Linked DNA regions of Homo sapiens: region 2 is linked to region 1. The links are contacts of gene promoters, found by promoter capture Hi-C in blood cells and fetal thymus (Javierre and others, 2016). All regions are on one chromosome and are shown on one strand. The core of a region is centred on a gene start or on the middle of the fragment in contact, and the rest is flanking DNA. Distances in the headings are between cores, read along the strand shown.

Region 1 (7,916 bases), core at 1,583-4,082:
AAGCTGCTTTCTTATTTCTCTCCTGGTGACTTCCAAGTGAATTATTTCTCTTGGGGTAGAACTCAATTCTATGTCAGGCTATCTATCTCTAAAAAGAGAAGAGGTCGCTGACTCAGAGGTAACAGTGCTGGTCTCATGCAACTGCAGATATTATCTCATGTTGCCTGCTCGTTGTTAATAAAGGCTTAATTTGAGATACATCTCAGAGTATACTCACAAACAGTGTCAGGCCCTTCAGTAGGTTGGATTCATCTAACAAACATCCCCAGGTATTTTTTGAAGAATTCAAGGAAATATACCTGTGACACCTAGAAAGTAACTCATATCCTGAAGCCTTAGGCACTATTAGCTAAAAGTAGTGTACATTAATTAATTTTAAAAATCTTTAATTTAAAATCACCTTTTCCATGATGAATCATCTCAAAGTCATAGCTTTTATTCAACAGCTTTTTGCAAGTGGGCATTTTTCAGACATTGGGAATCCCAGCAGGGCCCAATTAGCATGTTGGATTATTTAGGTAATCCCTGCACTCTACTGAAATGCAACTTTTCATCTTTGACTTCTCTTTACATTCCAACACTACCTGTTTTCAGGAGCTATCAGTTTTTTTTGTAATCAGCCTCATATCCATTCTAGGGATGATTTTCATATTTATCAACAATTATTTTCTCATTTATGCTGAGCCCTTACAGGATTTTGGAAAGTCAAAGGTGAACTACAGAGGATTTTCCCTGGAGCTGTTCACAGCCAGTTGGGAGGCATGGACACAATTATGGTTCAAAGTGATTAGCAGAAGTTTAGGTCTATCGGGGCACAGCAGCAGGTACGAGTAGAGCTCCAGGGAAGGGGCAGAGAAAGGAGACATCAAGGAGGAGATCACATTTAGTTTGATACTTTTAAGGTGATACAAGAATTTGCTAGGTAGGAAAAAGAATGTATTCATTATAGGCAAGAGCCACGGAGGGGGACGACAACTGGAAGGAGGTGCCACTGGGAAGGAGGTTGCAGTGAGAGTCTAAGGGGCAAAAATGAGGAACAAGTGAAGGGGCATAAATGAGGGGTCCTTAAGGGGGAAGATGTGCACGATCAGATTCAGGTGTCAGAAAGGCAACTTTAACCAAGTCTCTTCAGATTCTCTTTTTGCATCTCCTGAATTGCAGACACTAGGACTCAATCATTTTTTAGAAGCTAAAAAAAAAGTTCAGGCAAGATGAATTAGTATTAAGGGAGTGTTTGAGGCACCTGTGGCAGTGTTGTGCAATAGAAGAGGTGGAAGGAGGATGGCTAGGCTTTTCTTCCCTGATGTCCTACTACGAAAGGTTCCAGAGCTCTTGGCAGAGACAGTGATTGGTTCCGGGGCGGCGGTGGGGGGAGGGGGGCAGTGGTGGTGGGGGGTGGAGGAGCTCAAAGAACTCTGGAGTAGAAGCCAGAAGAGCTGACTAGCAGCAAGACCCAGACATCTCCCTTCTTCCACCTCTGTTTCTTCACCTGTGTGCCCAATATGGTTTGAGCTGCATCATCTTCAAGTTCCCTTCCAGCTCCAAAACACTGGGCATAAAACAACACATCAACTTCCAAACCCACTCTGAACACTAAACTCAATTTAACCAGACATCTTTTCAGCTGGAATGATTTGCCTTCCACTTTGTTTTCTACCTCAGATGCCTGGGGGACCACATGGAGAACACCCAGGGGAAGAGAAATTGATGGAGTGGGGTGGCTGGGTGCTGGCTGCTGACCTCCAGGAAGTTGTCACATCTGTTAGGTTGGGGCTGATGTCCCTCATTCTATCTAAAGAACTGTAGCTTGAGAACTTTCCTTTTGCTTGGTAAATACTGCCCTACACTAGAAGCAGTCGGTGTTCATTGACAGAAACAATGGGCAGCCAGTGTATTTGCCCAAAGGCAAGTCAACAAGAGAGGCAGCTGAAGGTGCTTGTGCTTGTTGTAGCAACTGGCAAGGGTGTAAATCAGTTGTTGCTTTTAGCCCATAATAATGAGATTCAATATTGTTTTTTCCAATACCTTTGATTGGTTCCAATCATATTACTTTTTCAAACAAATCTTCATTAGTAACAATCAATGCAAAAAAAAAATCTGTAAAAGTAACAAGGTGCAATAAAAGTAGATGAAAGACCTTACTTGATGTGTTAGAGGGCTACCCTCTAACACATAGCTCTTTGGTAGCTCTTCGGATAATTTCCCGTTTCCTTTTTTTTTTTTTAAGTTTATGTCGTTTCTTTAGTATGCTTTCTAGTAGTAAATTTTCACACCCCAGTTTTTCCAGGAGATTTTGGAATCAGCAGACTTCTCAGCCCACACCATAAAAAGCAAATTAATCATGTCTCTGTTTCAGCCAATTGAAGCTTTTGTTTTTTTTTACATAAACTGCCAAAAAGTTTATGGTTTTCTTAATATGCCCATTAAAGCTGGTAAATTACAGGGACGCACACTTCCTGGAAGACAAAGACTGAAAGAGGGTTAAATGAAGTGAGAGCTGTAGCCAGTTTAGACAGCTGCAGCGAAAGCGAAGTCCCCTCTCCATCCCACCCCCCAAAAAAAGGAGTTCTAATTTTCTCCACTTCTTTCACAGAAAGGATTAGATTTTCTGGGTGTCACCCTCCCCGGCAGAGTTCTGTAGCCTCGGGCACCCTACCAGCTTTTGCGATCCTCCTTCCCAGGAGTAGGAAGTGGAGGCGGCTTACCCCGGCCGACGGGAACGAGCGCGATCACCAGGGCGAAGACTAGGGCTGCGCGGGGAGCCTGCATGTCCGCTCGCCTCGGCAGAGGCGCGCTCAGGATGCTGCGCCGGGCTGCAGCCTCTCTGAAACGTGAACATTTCCTGTTTCCTGCTTGTTTGGGTCGGTGCTGACTTGAAGGAGAGGTGTGTGCCTGTTTTTTAGGAAGTGATGTAATTCTGCAGGAGCCTGTCAGACCAGCAAGGATTGCAAAAGAGAAGTTGCTGTTGAAGCACTGGTTCTATTATCACGCCTCTCCAGCCCTTTGGAGTCCCGGCCTCCAGCTTTTGAAACCGTCCCCGGGGCAACAGAGTCCCTTGCTCAGATGTCGTTCGGTATCTGGGACTGGGAGGGGTCCTGGACCACACGCATTCTCACTCTGTGATTTTGCTTATCCCCCAGGTGAGGCTCCGGGGCTGCCTAGACCCTAGGAAGAAGCTGTCCTGTAGAACTTTCTGCCCTGATGGAAATGTTCCAAGTCTGCGCCGTCTGATACAGTATCAGCCACATTGGCCACTGAGCATTTGAACTGAGGCTAGTGCTGATGGAATTTAAATTTTATTGAATTTTTATAAAATTTTAATAACTCCAAGTGGCTAGTGGCTGCTGTGTTGGATAGCGCAGGCCCAGACAGCAGGGACAACTGCATCATCAGAAAACTGCCAGACCACTTCTCTCCGCCAGGTCCATTCTCCTTTCTCCACTCTGGAATGCCCTCCTCCCACCAAGGCCCACGCCAGATGGAGGTGGATGCCACACCCACACCTTAAGGTTATGTTCTGCTTCCCCAGAGAGAAATGATCTTTTCAAGGTCCATTTCCAAAGGAGAATATGCTCTGAGGGTGGAGGTAGGGGTGAATCTGCATCTCACCTTCCTTCCTTCTTACTTGACAATCAAGTTCTCAGACAACAAACAAAACAGGACAGAAACGAAATAGAATAATGGTAGAAATCCTATCCAATCGAAACAATACAGAAAGGTTGTGTCTAGTATACAGTGGAGATTAGTGTGTGTTGGGTGTTCTATTGGAGGTCCTTCCCTTGGTTTAGGTTTAGGGCCTAAGCATTCAGAATGCAGTTTCATAATCGTGGTGCCAAGAGAGACAGACAGATGGAGAGAGGGGTAGTGTTGAGGCATCAGACACATCTCATCTCTAAACCTTTCCCTGCAGATCACCATCTGAGTCATGACTTCCCGTCGTTTGTCTTCAGTGATCTGGTTGGTGCAAACGTATGAGGTGACTGGAATTCCTTAGCCCCTGACATAGCTGTTAATTTTTCTTTAATGCATTGCTGCTTTTCAATGTCATTAGTCACTGTTTATCTCAGTTATTATTCACAAGAAATAGGTTGGTGATTCATGTAAGGATCAGTTTGTTAATGGATTTACAGTATGCACTTTAATGTTTTAAACTGGCAATTAAGTCAATTCTTGATAAAATATGCTTTTTGCACCACAGGTGACAATACAGAACAAACAGCAGGAGAAAATAGACGTGCTCAAAACTGGGTGATTGATTTGAAAACAACAGAGAAAGAACTATTAATTAAACACTTGCTGAGCATGTGAATAGATCACGGGCTCCAAGACCTGCTGGTACTGAGTTGGGGTGGCAATTATTCCTGTACAAGCACGTGTTTCTGCAGCTGTGACACACACGTGCAAGAAAGCAGGCCCAGGGCTTGGGAGTTCTCTCCATTTTACCATTTATGCCCTATTAAAATATTATTAAATGTTATTAAAACATTGTTGAATCCCAGGCTGGAGGCAAATGTTTGTCAAGGGCAAGGTTGTCAGCCTTCGTTTCTTTCATCTTAAACTTCAGCTCCCTGTGGAAGCTTTTGCAGTCAGGTGTCTGTGGATTGGACCACAGACTGTCTTATTCTGTGGACCTCTGCTGAGCCCCATGACATGGCCAAACAGTTCATTACTGTTTCAACAAGTGCACTATGCATTGCTTCTGAGCAGTGCAACACTAAATCAGAGTGAGGTACAAAATAAACTGGAGCTGCAGAGAAATCCTGCCCAACCATGTAATTTTCTTTTGACCCCTGTGCTCTCTAAGACCCTTAGCATGATTAAGCTGATCTTAGGGGGAAGAAAATTACCATGATTGATCAGAAAATGGTAGCACCTCAATGATCTCTTTGCTGCAGTTAAAATCCCAGGGAGGCTGTGTGGTAGGTAAAGGGCTATTTACCTCTGTTTTAATTTTAGCAACCATTAATTTAGGCAAATAGCCACCCAGCCTCAGATTAAATCCCGATGCACTGGTGGCAGGAAGTCAGGGCCTCAGTCCCAGATGTGGGGCACAGGGGAACCTCAGAGTGAGTGGCACACAGGCAGGGGTAATGCCACTTTGGAGCCTGCCATTGGCTGTCTGAAAGCAGGAAAGAAGTATGGTGCTTCATCATGTTCAGAAGGGCAGGAAGGGACACTGGGAACCATGTCTAGGGACTCTTTATTACTTTACACAAAGGAGTGTGACTTTTACAATCAACTGTCTGTGCTACAGAAGTGACTCTCATCCTATCCTCCCTCCCTTCCCCCCGCCCCCTCCCCACCACCACTCCATGGGCCATAAAAGAAGAGGGACTCCAAGGGAACAAATCCAGATAAATGATAGGATCTTCCAGTGGGTGCAGACAGCCTTCTCCGCGTTCCTCTTCACACTCCGATCCTGCCATTCCCAATACACACAGATGTGCACATGCACTCAGATACACACACAGCTGTCTCTCACACACACATTCATGCACATGGTGGAAATAAATGAAGACTAAATGAGCACAAGCAAATGAAACCAAGCAATGGATATTAATTCAGAGCTTGCCATAGCAAGAGAGTCAGCCACCATCGCTGCATTTTGGCACAGACCCAAAGGCAGGCCAAGGAATGAGATAACTTTACAGTCGATAAAAGGAAGGCTCAGGGCCGGGTGCAGTGGCTCATACCTGTAATCCCAGCACTTTGGGAGGACAAGGTGGGCGGATCACCTGAGGTCAGGAGTTCAAGACCAGCCTGGCCAATATAGTAAAACCCCATCTCTACAAAAATACAAAAATTAGCCGGGCATGATGCGGGGTACCTGTAATCCCAGCTACTCGGAAGGCTGAGGCAGAAGAATCACTTGTACCTGAGAGGTGGAGGTTGCAGTGAGCCGAGATCCCACCATTGCAGTCCAGCCTGGGCGACAGAGCAAGAGTCGTTTCAGAAAAAAAACAAAAGGAAGGCTCAGGTATGGCCTGAAGGGAGGCTGCTGGCATGGGGAACCAGCAGCAAGTTCTAGTGATTGGTGAGGAGGTGCATATTTTGCTGCTGCTAGATCAGAAGAGGAGATAAAAATGAGGGAATCTGTCAGAAGGTGCTCTGACCTCCTACAAGTTTGATTTCTAGCAGGCTGGCTTCCTAGACTTGCTACTGAAGATAGTGAATTGGTTTCTGGGGGTTGGTTGCTGCAAGCTGGGAGCCAGTGTTCTGTTTTTGCATATATTATTTGGCCACTGTCCATTTGTACATCCAGTCTCCCAACACACACCCACAGGCACACTCACATACTCAGAAATGTGCACACGTGCTCACACACACACGCTCTCACATCGACACTCACATACAAATGTTCTGGAGCTTCTTTCTCTGTCTAAATGCCTGCTAGTGACAGTGGATGGTTCCTGGGTGTTTGGTTGGCTGTGGGCTGGCCCTCAAACAAGATAATAGTAACATCAGGTGGGGCCTGTGTATCACTCTGAAGCCAGCTAGGAAGGTGCAGGGAGGAGGCAGATTGAAGTCCCAGGTTCTGAAGGAATGCCCAGAGAGGTAGCCGGGCAGGGCAGAGGCTGGGGCAGAAGGATTAGGCTGACATTTAGCGTGTGCAGAGAAGCCACAGCCAGGAGAGGGGCTGACAGCCATCTCACTGCGCGTGAAGTGGGGGCAGCTGGAGCCTGCACAGCCGGGCTCATCTTGACCAGCCTATCTCCACCCTTGGGGGTCTCTGTCTCTGCATCCTGGCTGCCAATACTCTTCAGAGAAACTGTTGCAAGGTTTGGATAATCCTAGGGGCTTCCATGACAGGGTCTTCCAGGGCCTAGGTAGATGGCCTGGTCACCACAACATGAAACTGTAAAGGATTGTGATTAGGAGCTAAAGTGGCAGTTGACACGTGGGACACAGTGCAGCGCTCTGGGCTAGAGGGTGCTGGGGCGTATCTAAGAGACAGAGCAGCAGCTCACTGCTGAACATCCACAGTCCTCCTCTAATTGCCCTCTGAGAGCAATGGCATTCTCTGTCTTGCTCTCCAGTCTATCCTCAGCATTTAGGACAGAGAACAGAGAAGTGAGTAAATGGGGGGAAAATCCCTTTACAGCAGTATTTTTTTAAGTGCACTGGAGGGGGCCACCTATGTTAGAATTATTCAGGGGAGCTTGTTAAAATTCAGAGTCCTGGACCCTATGCCAGAACTATTGAGTCAGAATCCCTAGAGCTGAGGTCCATAACTCTGTATTTGTAATGTTTGAGGGGATTTTTATGCATGATAGATAAAACTCGAGAATCATGTGTTAGTTAGTTCCTGGAAATTATTGCTAGTTCCTAGAAAGGTCCCTTTTCTCCAAAGGTAAGAAATAAAAAGCACGTTGTATTTTCCTGTTTTGCCTTGACTGCCAGGAGGCCTGGAACTAAAAGTTGAAGCTTGGTTGTGTAACTTTTATTAGCCCAGGTGTCTTTACCATTTCTAGGAATATTTCTTTTCCTGGCTAACTGTAACTCATCTGTCTAGCCCTAATTTAGAAGACATCTCCACCAGGGAGCTATCTTAGAAGCCTTCCTCCTCCCCCTAACCCAAGCTGAACAAAATGCTCATCCTTTACTGCCACCCACATAACACCCATCAGAATACAACCAGAAGACCTGGCTGTGTCTCTGTCTCCCCGCCTTGATTACCCTCGTCTCACTCATCTGTGGTCTCCTGCATCTGTTAAAAGGAACTAGACTTCTTCTTCTATTGCTGTTTTGTTTTTGATCAAATCATATCTTAAGGCCTTTTCCACCCAAGTCTCTCCAAATATTTTGCAAGTAGGACATACCTCATTAATAAATATATAGTATTTATACCAAAGTCCACTCCAGAATGATACATGCAGATTGATGGCCTCAATGATTCTTCTTTTGCTTTTCTGTTG
Region 2 (7,916 bases), core at 1,415-3,914, 240 kb before region 1:
GGAAACTACTAACGAGAGGCCTGGGGAGGGGAGGGGAGGGGAGGGGAGGGGAGGGGAGGGGTTTCCAACATGATGCACCATCCCCTACCAAACACGTAAGTATGCATTTCTTATAAAAAGGACATACTTCTTCATAATCACAATATAAATGTTAAAGTAAGGAAAATGGCACTGACATATCAGACTGTCTATTCCTCAGAACCCATTTGAGTTTTGTATCTGAAATACTTCCTTGATCCTTTCTTTATTTTCATTCCTTTAACAACTTTGAAAGATTATAAGCCATTCATTTTGTATAACGGCCCTTAATTTTGGTTTGTCTAATTTTGGATTCACATTATGCATCGCAGGCAGGAATATGACGGAAGTGATACTATGTTTCTCTCATTGCTTTGTATTATCAGGTAGGCATATTTCCAGTTCATCCCATTATTGATCTTCACTTTCAACCTTTCTCAATCTTTCTACACTGGAGGCACACTTAAAATAATTTTCAGATCTCAGGAACCCCTGCATTAAAATGGTTGTATCTACAACTCACACTACATTAGCTTGATTAGCAAGTTGTAGATATAATAATTCAATGATACTTGTCAGTGCTCTTCTGAGTAGACGATTTTTTTTCTGCGGGTTTGTTTTACAGGCATACCTCATTTTACTGGACTGCAGTTTACTGCACTTCACAAATAGTATATTTTTTTAAAAATTGGAAGTTTGTGGCAATCCTATGTTGAGCAAGTCTATCAGCACAATTTTTTCAAAAGCATGTGGTAACTTCATGTCTCTGTATCACATTTTGGTAATTCTTGCAGTATTTCAAACTTTTTCATTATTATTGTATCTATTATGATGATCAATGATCAGTGATCTTTCATGTTACTACTGTAATTGTTTTGGGGTGCCACAAACCGCACCCATGGAAGACGGCAAAAATGTTGTGTATTCTGACTACTACACCAACCAGCCATTCCCCCATCTTTGTCCCTCTCCTTAGGCCTCCCTATCCCCTAAGACAAAACAATATTAAAATTAGGCCAATTAATAATCCTAAAATGGCCTCTAAGCATTCAGGCAAAAAGGAAGAGTCTCACTTTAAATCAAAAGCTAGAAATGCAAAAGAAAAGTTCTTGAAGGAAATTAAAAGTGCTACTCCAGTGAACACATAAATGATAAGAAAGTGAAATAGCCTTATTGTTGATATGGAAAAAGTTTTGAGTGATCTGAATAAAAGGTCAAATCAACCATAACATTTCCTTAGACCAAAGCTTTATCCAGAGCAAGGCCCTAACTCACTTCAATTCTATGAAGGCTGAGAGAGGTGAGAAAGCTTCAGAAGAAAAGCTGGAAGCTAGCAGAGGTTGGTTCACGGGCTTAAAAAAAGAAGCTGTCTTGATAACATATAAGTACAAGGTAAAGCAGCAAATGCTGATGCAGAAGCTGCAGCAAGTTACCTAAAAGGTCTAGCTAACTAAGATCACTGACGAAGGTGGCTACACTAAACAACAGATTTTCACTGTAGATGAAACAGCCCCCTGCTGGAAGATGCCATCCATGACTCTTCTAGCTGGACAGGTGAAGTCAATACCTGCCTTCCAAACTAAAGGACAGGCTGACTCTCTTGTTAGGGGCTGATGCTGCTGTTGACTTTAGGTAGAACAGTGCTCATTTACCATTCCAAAAACTGTAGAGCTCTTAAGAATTAGGCTAAATATACTCTCCCTGTGCTCTACAAATGGAATAACAGAGCCTAGATGGCAGCACATCCATTTATTGCAAGACTTTACTAGACATTTTAAGCCCACTGTTGAGACCTACTGCTCAGAATGAAAGATTCCTTTCAAATATTACTCATTGCTCAATGACAACGAACCTGGTCACCCAAGAGCTCTGATGGAGATGTACATGGAGATTCATGTTGTTTTCATGCCTAATAATACAATACCCATTCTGCAGCCCATTAATCAAGGGTCATTTCTACTTTCCAGTCTTGTTTTAGAAATACATTAGCTGTTTTATATATATACATAGTGAATCCTCTGATGGATCTGGGCAAAGTAAATTGAAAACCTTTTGAGAAGGATAACTGCACTCCAGATACCATTAAGAATATCTGTGTTTCACAGAAGGAGGTCAAAATATCAACATCAACAGGAGTTTGGAAGAAGTTGATTCCAACCCTCGTGGATGACTTTGAGGGGTTCAAGACTTCAGTGGAGGGCTACTCAGGAGGCTGAGGCAGAAGAATCACTTGAACCCGGCAGGCGCAAGTTGCAGTGAGCTGACTGAGATCGTGCCACTGCACTCCAGCCTGGGAGACAGAGCCAGACTCCATCTCAAAAAAAAAAAAAATTCAGTGGCGGAAGTCACTGCAGGCGCGTAGAAATAGCAAGAGAACTAGAATTAGAACTGGAGTTTGACAATGTGACTAAACTGTTGCAATCTCATAATAAAACTTGAATGGATAAGGTGTTGTTTCTTCTGAATGAGCAAGGAAAGTAGTTTCCTGAGACAAAGTTAAACAATTTAGAATACTGCATACACTTAATTGATAAACCAGCGGCAGGATTTGAAAGGATTGCCTCCAGTTTTGAAAGAAGTTCTACTCTGCATAAAATGCTATCAAACAGCATCACACGCTACAGAGAAATCGTTCATGACAGGAAGAGTCAATCAATGCAGCAAACTTCATTGTTATTTTAAGAAACTGACACAGCCATTCCAACCCTCAGCAACATCACTCTATCAGTCAGCAGCCATCAACACTGAGGCAAGACTACAGCAGTAAAATGATCGTGACTCCCTGAAGGCTCAGGTGATTGTTAGCATTTTTTAGCAATCAAGTATTTTTTAGCCAGGCGCGATGGCTCACGCTTGTAATCTCAGCACTTTGGGAGGCAGAGGTGGGCAGATCACTTGAGGTCAGGAGTTCAAGACCAGCCTGGCCAACATGGTGAAACCCGGTCTCTACTAAAAATATAAAATTAGCCGGGTGTGGTGGCGGGTGCCTGTAATCCCAGCTACTTGGAAGGCAGAGGCAAGAGAATCGCTTGAACCTGAGAGGCGGAGGTTACAGCGAGCCAATACCATACCACTGCACTCCAGCCTGGGCAACAGAGCAAGACTGTCTCAATAAATAAATAAATAGTAAAGTATTTTTTAGTTAAGGTATGCACACTTTTTAGACAGAATGCTATTGCATACTTAATAGGCTACAATGCCATGTAAATATAACTTTATATGCACTGGGGAAACAATAAATTCTTGTGACTAACTTTATTATGATATTTGCTTAATTGTAGTGGTCTAGAACCAAATCCATGGTATCTTCAAAGTATTAATTCTAACAAAAAGTGGCCAGGCACGGTGGCTCATGCCTGTAATCTCAGCACTTTGGGAGGCCAAGCCAGGTGGATCACTTGAGGTCAGGAGTTCGAGACCAACTTGGCCAACATGGTGAAACACTGTCTCTACTAAAAACATAAAAATTAGCCAGGAGTGGCACACACCTGTAATCTCAGCTACTCAGGAGGCTGAGGAACGAGAATCACTTGAACCCCAGAGGCAAAAGTTGCAGTGAGCCGAGATTACATCACTGCACTCGAGCCTGGGTGACAGACTGAGACTCTGTCTCAAAAAAACAAAAACACTCTATTTTAAAACATAAAGCTATACAAGTAAAGTAAGGGACAAATGGTACTGGTAAACCTACTCCATCACCCAGTACTACCCTACCCACATGGGAGATGTGCGTGGACTTATTTAACAGCACAGAAAAAATATACAAACATGCACACCCACTGCTACTTCATGTCAATATAGTAGCAGCAATGATAAAACAATGGGACAACTACAGACAACAGTCTACTTTCCTATTAAGACATGTTCTTGTAGTGTACATTAGTTCATTCATTCATCATTTGGGCGATGAGGTCAGTATAATGTGAATGTCACTTTAGTCCAAAATTTTCCCCAGCATAGTAAAGTTTTAAAGCCAGCAGGGACAAGCTTTCTCACAAAGACAGAGCTTAAGCAATACATGATGACCTTAAGAAAAAAACTAGAAATCCAGAAGAGGGTAACCAGAGGCTAGTTAATGGCTTTAAACTGCTAGGCATTCCACAATGTTAAAACCATCTGGTCAAGCTGTGAGTACAGATAGAAAATCCATGACAATATTTTTCCCACGTTAATTTTTTTTTTTAAGGGGTGAGAGGCAACTGATAAAAACTACACCCTGGATCAGATTTACTAGTTTTCACAATTTCATCATAAGTAGAAATGAATGTTCTCGAGGACCTACATTTCAAAGGAGAAAGCATAAATCCTAGAACTTAGAACTAACTGGGGTAAATATTTAGCTATATAATATTTTTATTAGAATGGGTACTGGTTTCGTTACTACAGAGATTACAAGTTTACACAGGAACAAGCCACTCAGAAACCGATTTTCAGGGCCCGATTTTGCAGAGCTTCAGGTTTTCTTCAGAGACAACTATACTGTTATATAACAAAAGTAACTGCCTGTACTATGGTTATTTAAAGAAGTCCACGGTGGCTCAGGCCTGTAATCCCAGCACTTCGGGAGGCTGAGGCGGGCCGATCACGAGGTCAGGAGATTGAGACATCCTGGCTAACCCAGTGAAACCCCGTCTCTACTAAAAAATACAAAAAAATTAGCCAGGTGTGGTGGCAGGCACCTGTAGTCCCAGCTACTCAGGAGGCTGAGGCAGGAGAATGGTGTGAACCCAGGAGGTGGAGCTTGCAGTGAGCCAAGATCGTGCCACTGCACTCCAGCCTGGGTGACAGAGCAAGACTCCGTCACAAAAAAAAAAAAAAAAAAAAAGTCCAATGTCACCTCCTGCTTCATACAGACCTGGCTTTACTTCTTCCATATGTGCTGTTATGGGGTAAACCAATCTGCACTAAAAGATTAAATTTTATTGCTACTAAACACTTAAAAATTATTTTCAGTCAATCCAACATATTGCCCATTTTTGTTTTAAGAAATACTAATAAAAAGGACTGGAGTGAGATATTCAAAATGAGTCAAAATTAGGCAATAACAAATACAGACTGTAATAGCATAGGTAGAATATGTGGCCTCTTATGCCAAACTAAATTTAAATTCTGGTATATACTATGTCTTCTAAAAAAATTTTTTTTCAGTTTCTTAATTTTATAATAATGCCACAAGGAAGATGACAACCATTAGAATGACAAATTCTTCCTTTAGAAATAATCTCTTTAGCTTGCAGCACAACACCTTTGAAATTATTTTCTTTATGAAAATCTCAAAGTATTAAGGAGAAAGCAGTACATACTGTCCCTGGTTAGAGAGGATACATTTCTTCACTAAGCAGAACAATAACAATAACAAAAATTGACTTCAGCATTCAAATTTCTGTTGACAACATGTGTTTAAGATGATTCTATCACTTAGGAATGTCAAACTCTAACCAAAATTTAATTTTGGTAACACAAATTATTAAAAACTTAAAATATTTAAGTTTACCTGAAATTTTGTTTTACATCAAGGCATTTTTAAAACTTCTTATGATTTTCTGAAACAGGTATATCCTGAAATGTCAAATCACTAAAGTTATAAATACCAGTGGAGCACTCTTCAAAACTGGGAAGGGATATATGAGCTAACAAAAAAGGGGAGAAAATGGTACCTTGCACAGAACAAGTACACCCATCTAGTAAAGAGATGTAATCTAAGCATTCCCCATCCCACTCCCTGCTCCAAATCATGTCCTATATGCTTTATATAGAATGTCATTTGGACCCTGACTGTTCACACCACTTTCTATTCTCTCTACCAATTCAGGTTCAATACTGTAACATTCTGAAACACTGTTTCTCTTTCTTCATTGCTTAAGTTTATACGGTTTTTTTTTTTCAATAACGTTCACTAAGCGTCATGTCTCTTCTATGTAGAAATTTTAAGATGGAAGCGGCAATATATCTTTCTTATTGAAATAAAAACATTGATCAAGAACAATTTCCACTGTGATAAACAGAAAATACGTATCAAAATTACACAGACCTACCTACATAGAATGTATATTCAGCAACTCGAACTTATATGGCTAAGTATGTTCCTCTCCTTATTGAGATGACTGAAGCTTTCAGAGAGCTGTGTACCTATCAACTTGTGATATCTCAATCTCAAAGGTTTTGTTTCTTTACTCCTCCCTTCTTTGTCGCCTGTCTCTGAGAGGAAAAATGTAATCTCCATCATTTCTAAGACTATTAATACCATCAGTAGCTTTGATTTTCTCTACCCCTAAGCCTTTCAGAAATTTGCTCCATTAGTCACACGCCTCCTGCTTAAAGGTTCAATTTCTTTAATCTTAATCTTGTCTCTTTGTTAATATTCACCAGTATATGACACTGATTCTTTAATGTCAATATAAGACCAACATAAATGAGTGAAGTCTCATAAATAGGAAGAAAGTTGCCCCAATCCAACTATTCAGATTTTTAAAATAATAAAATTCAGTTTTCTTTTCAATTCACTCTTAATGAAGCTCTAATAATAAAATGGAAGTAAAGGAGGAAGCAACAATCAGTATCACAAAATACGCAAAGAGCCAAGACTATATGGCAATTATTTCCAATCTTTATTTTTGAATAACCAATGACTTGCTGGTTATGCCAAATTATATCTAAAAGTTAACCCAGGTCTGATTCTAAAAAATAAATTTTAAAAAGCTCTCTTTGGAGGATAGACTGCTATTACTTTCAACTAGTCATTTCCAAAATTTAGGAATTAATTTCCTATATAGAAGCAGAATATGTTACAAAACTTTGCTCCTATGCTCACTTTTCTTTTAAAAATTAAACCTGTTTCTTAAACATTATCTTTAAAAGGTTAACACGATTTTTATTCACTCTTAATCACACATTGTAGGGTAAAGAATAACATTTCACCATCCCTCCCAGAAAAAAGTAACCTCAATCGGAATTTTGATATTCTTCCTGTAAGTTTTGTGATCTTATACAAAATTCAAGACATTTCCAATCTTACTTCTAGGCACTAAAAGATATTGCTTATAATATATTAATCGTAACTATCATATAACTTCCCCTACTTATCAAAGCAATGTTGTTGCTCTGAGGTTTCCAACTTCTCATTTCCCACTCCACACAGCTTCCTCAGGGTATTATATGCTTTCTCGTAGCATCAACTACAATCTACAGTGGTGGTTCTCAAACTTCAGTAGAATTACAGATCACTCTGGAGGCAGGGGTTCTTGTATTAAAATGTAAATTCCTAGGCTGGTAGCAAAAACGAAATCTATGGCTCCTTCTAAATTCACCTCTTCCAAGATGGCTTCCCAAGTAACTCTTCACCACTACTCCCAAACATTATTAGTTTAAAAACTTTCTGTTCCAACAGGTTCTATTCCATACCTATGTTCTGAAATACCTTGTAACTATTTTGTTGTCTGTCTCTCTCATTAGGACTGTAAACTCCAAGGAAGTAATTTTTGGCTTCTCTGTTTTAGTATTTCCAGTGGTTTACACAAGAGGTTAGCTATTAGCAGGCGATCGTTAAATGCCAGTACACATGTACTGACCAGATTAAAGGACAGGTAACAAATAGTTGAATAAAAATCAGCAATAATGACTCATTATATACTTTGCTCTACACTTTGACAGTCTGAATTAGGAAGGCTTATACAACAGTTTTGTTTCCCAAGTTATGAACACTTAAAAGTTTCAGACAGACCAACAAGGACAGTATCAGGGATAAGAACATGGGTCTTTAAGTTAGACATTACTGAGGTAAAAACCTAGATCCACCACTTAATATGATCTCAGGAAAGCTTATAATAGTTTCAGTGCCTCCTCAACGCTAAAACAAAGCTCATATCTAATTAATACATTCTAGGTGAAGATTGAAAGAA

Evidence for each region. Contacts are between HindIII fragments. The CHiCAGO score rates a contact against its expected background, and 5 or more counts as called.
Region 2: a fragment that was not itself captured here is called in contact with the fragment with the promoter of TMEM154 in region 1 in 2 of 17 cell types (total B cells and monocytes); the score reaches 5.5 in total B cells.

Annotation. Positions count from the first base shown.
Region 1 is chr4:152,677,165-152,685,080 of GRCh38, forward strand. TMEM154 (transmembrane protein 154) reads right to left here and starts at 2,833. Exons shown (of 7, transcript NM_152680.3): 1 at 2,706-2,833. The coding sequence starts at 2,769. LOC105377495 (a long non-coding RNA gene) reads left to right here and starts at 2,921. Exons shown (of 4, transcript XR_939359.3): 1 at 2,921-3,140; 2 at 3,423-3,509; 3 at 3,911-3,976; 4 at 4,199-4,498. RefSeq lists enhancers at 2,467-3,296, 2,607-2,916. The HindIII fragment of the contact is 2,211 bases long and covers 2,365-4,575 here.
Region 2 is chr4:152,435,044-152,442,959 of GRCh38, forward strand. The region is part of intron 2 of FBXW7 (F-box and WD repeat domain containing 7); the gene reads right to left. Among named protein-coding and RNA genes, the nearest start is that of MIR3140, 50 kb to the right of the region's middle. The HindIII fragment of the contact is 2,678 bases long and covers 1,326-4,003 here.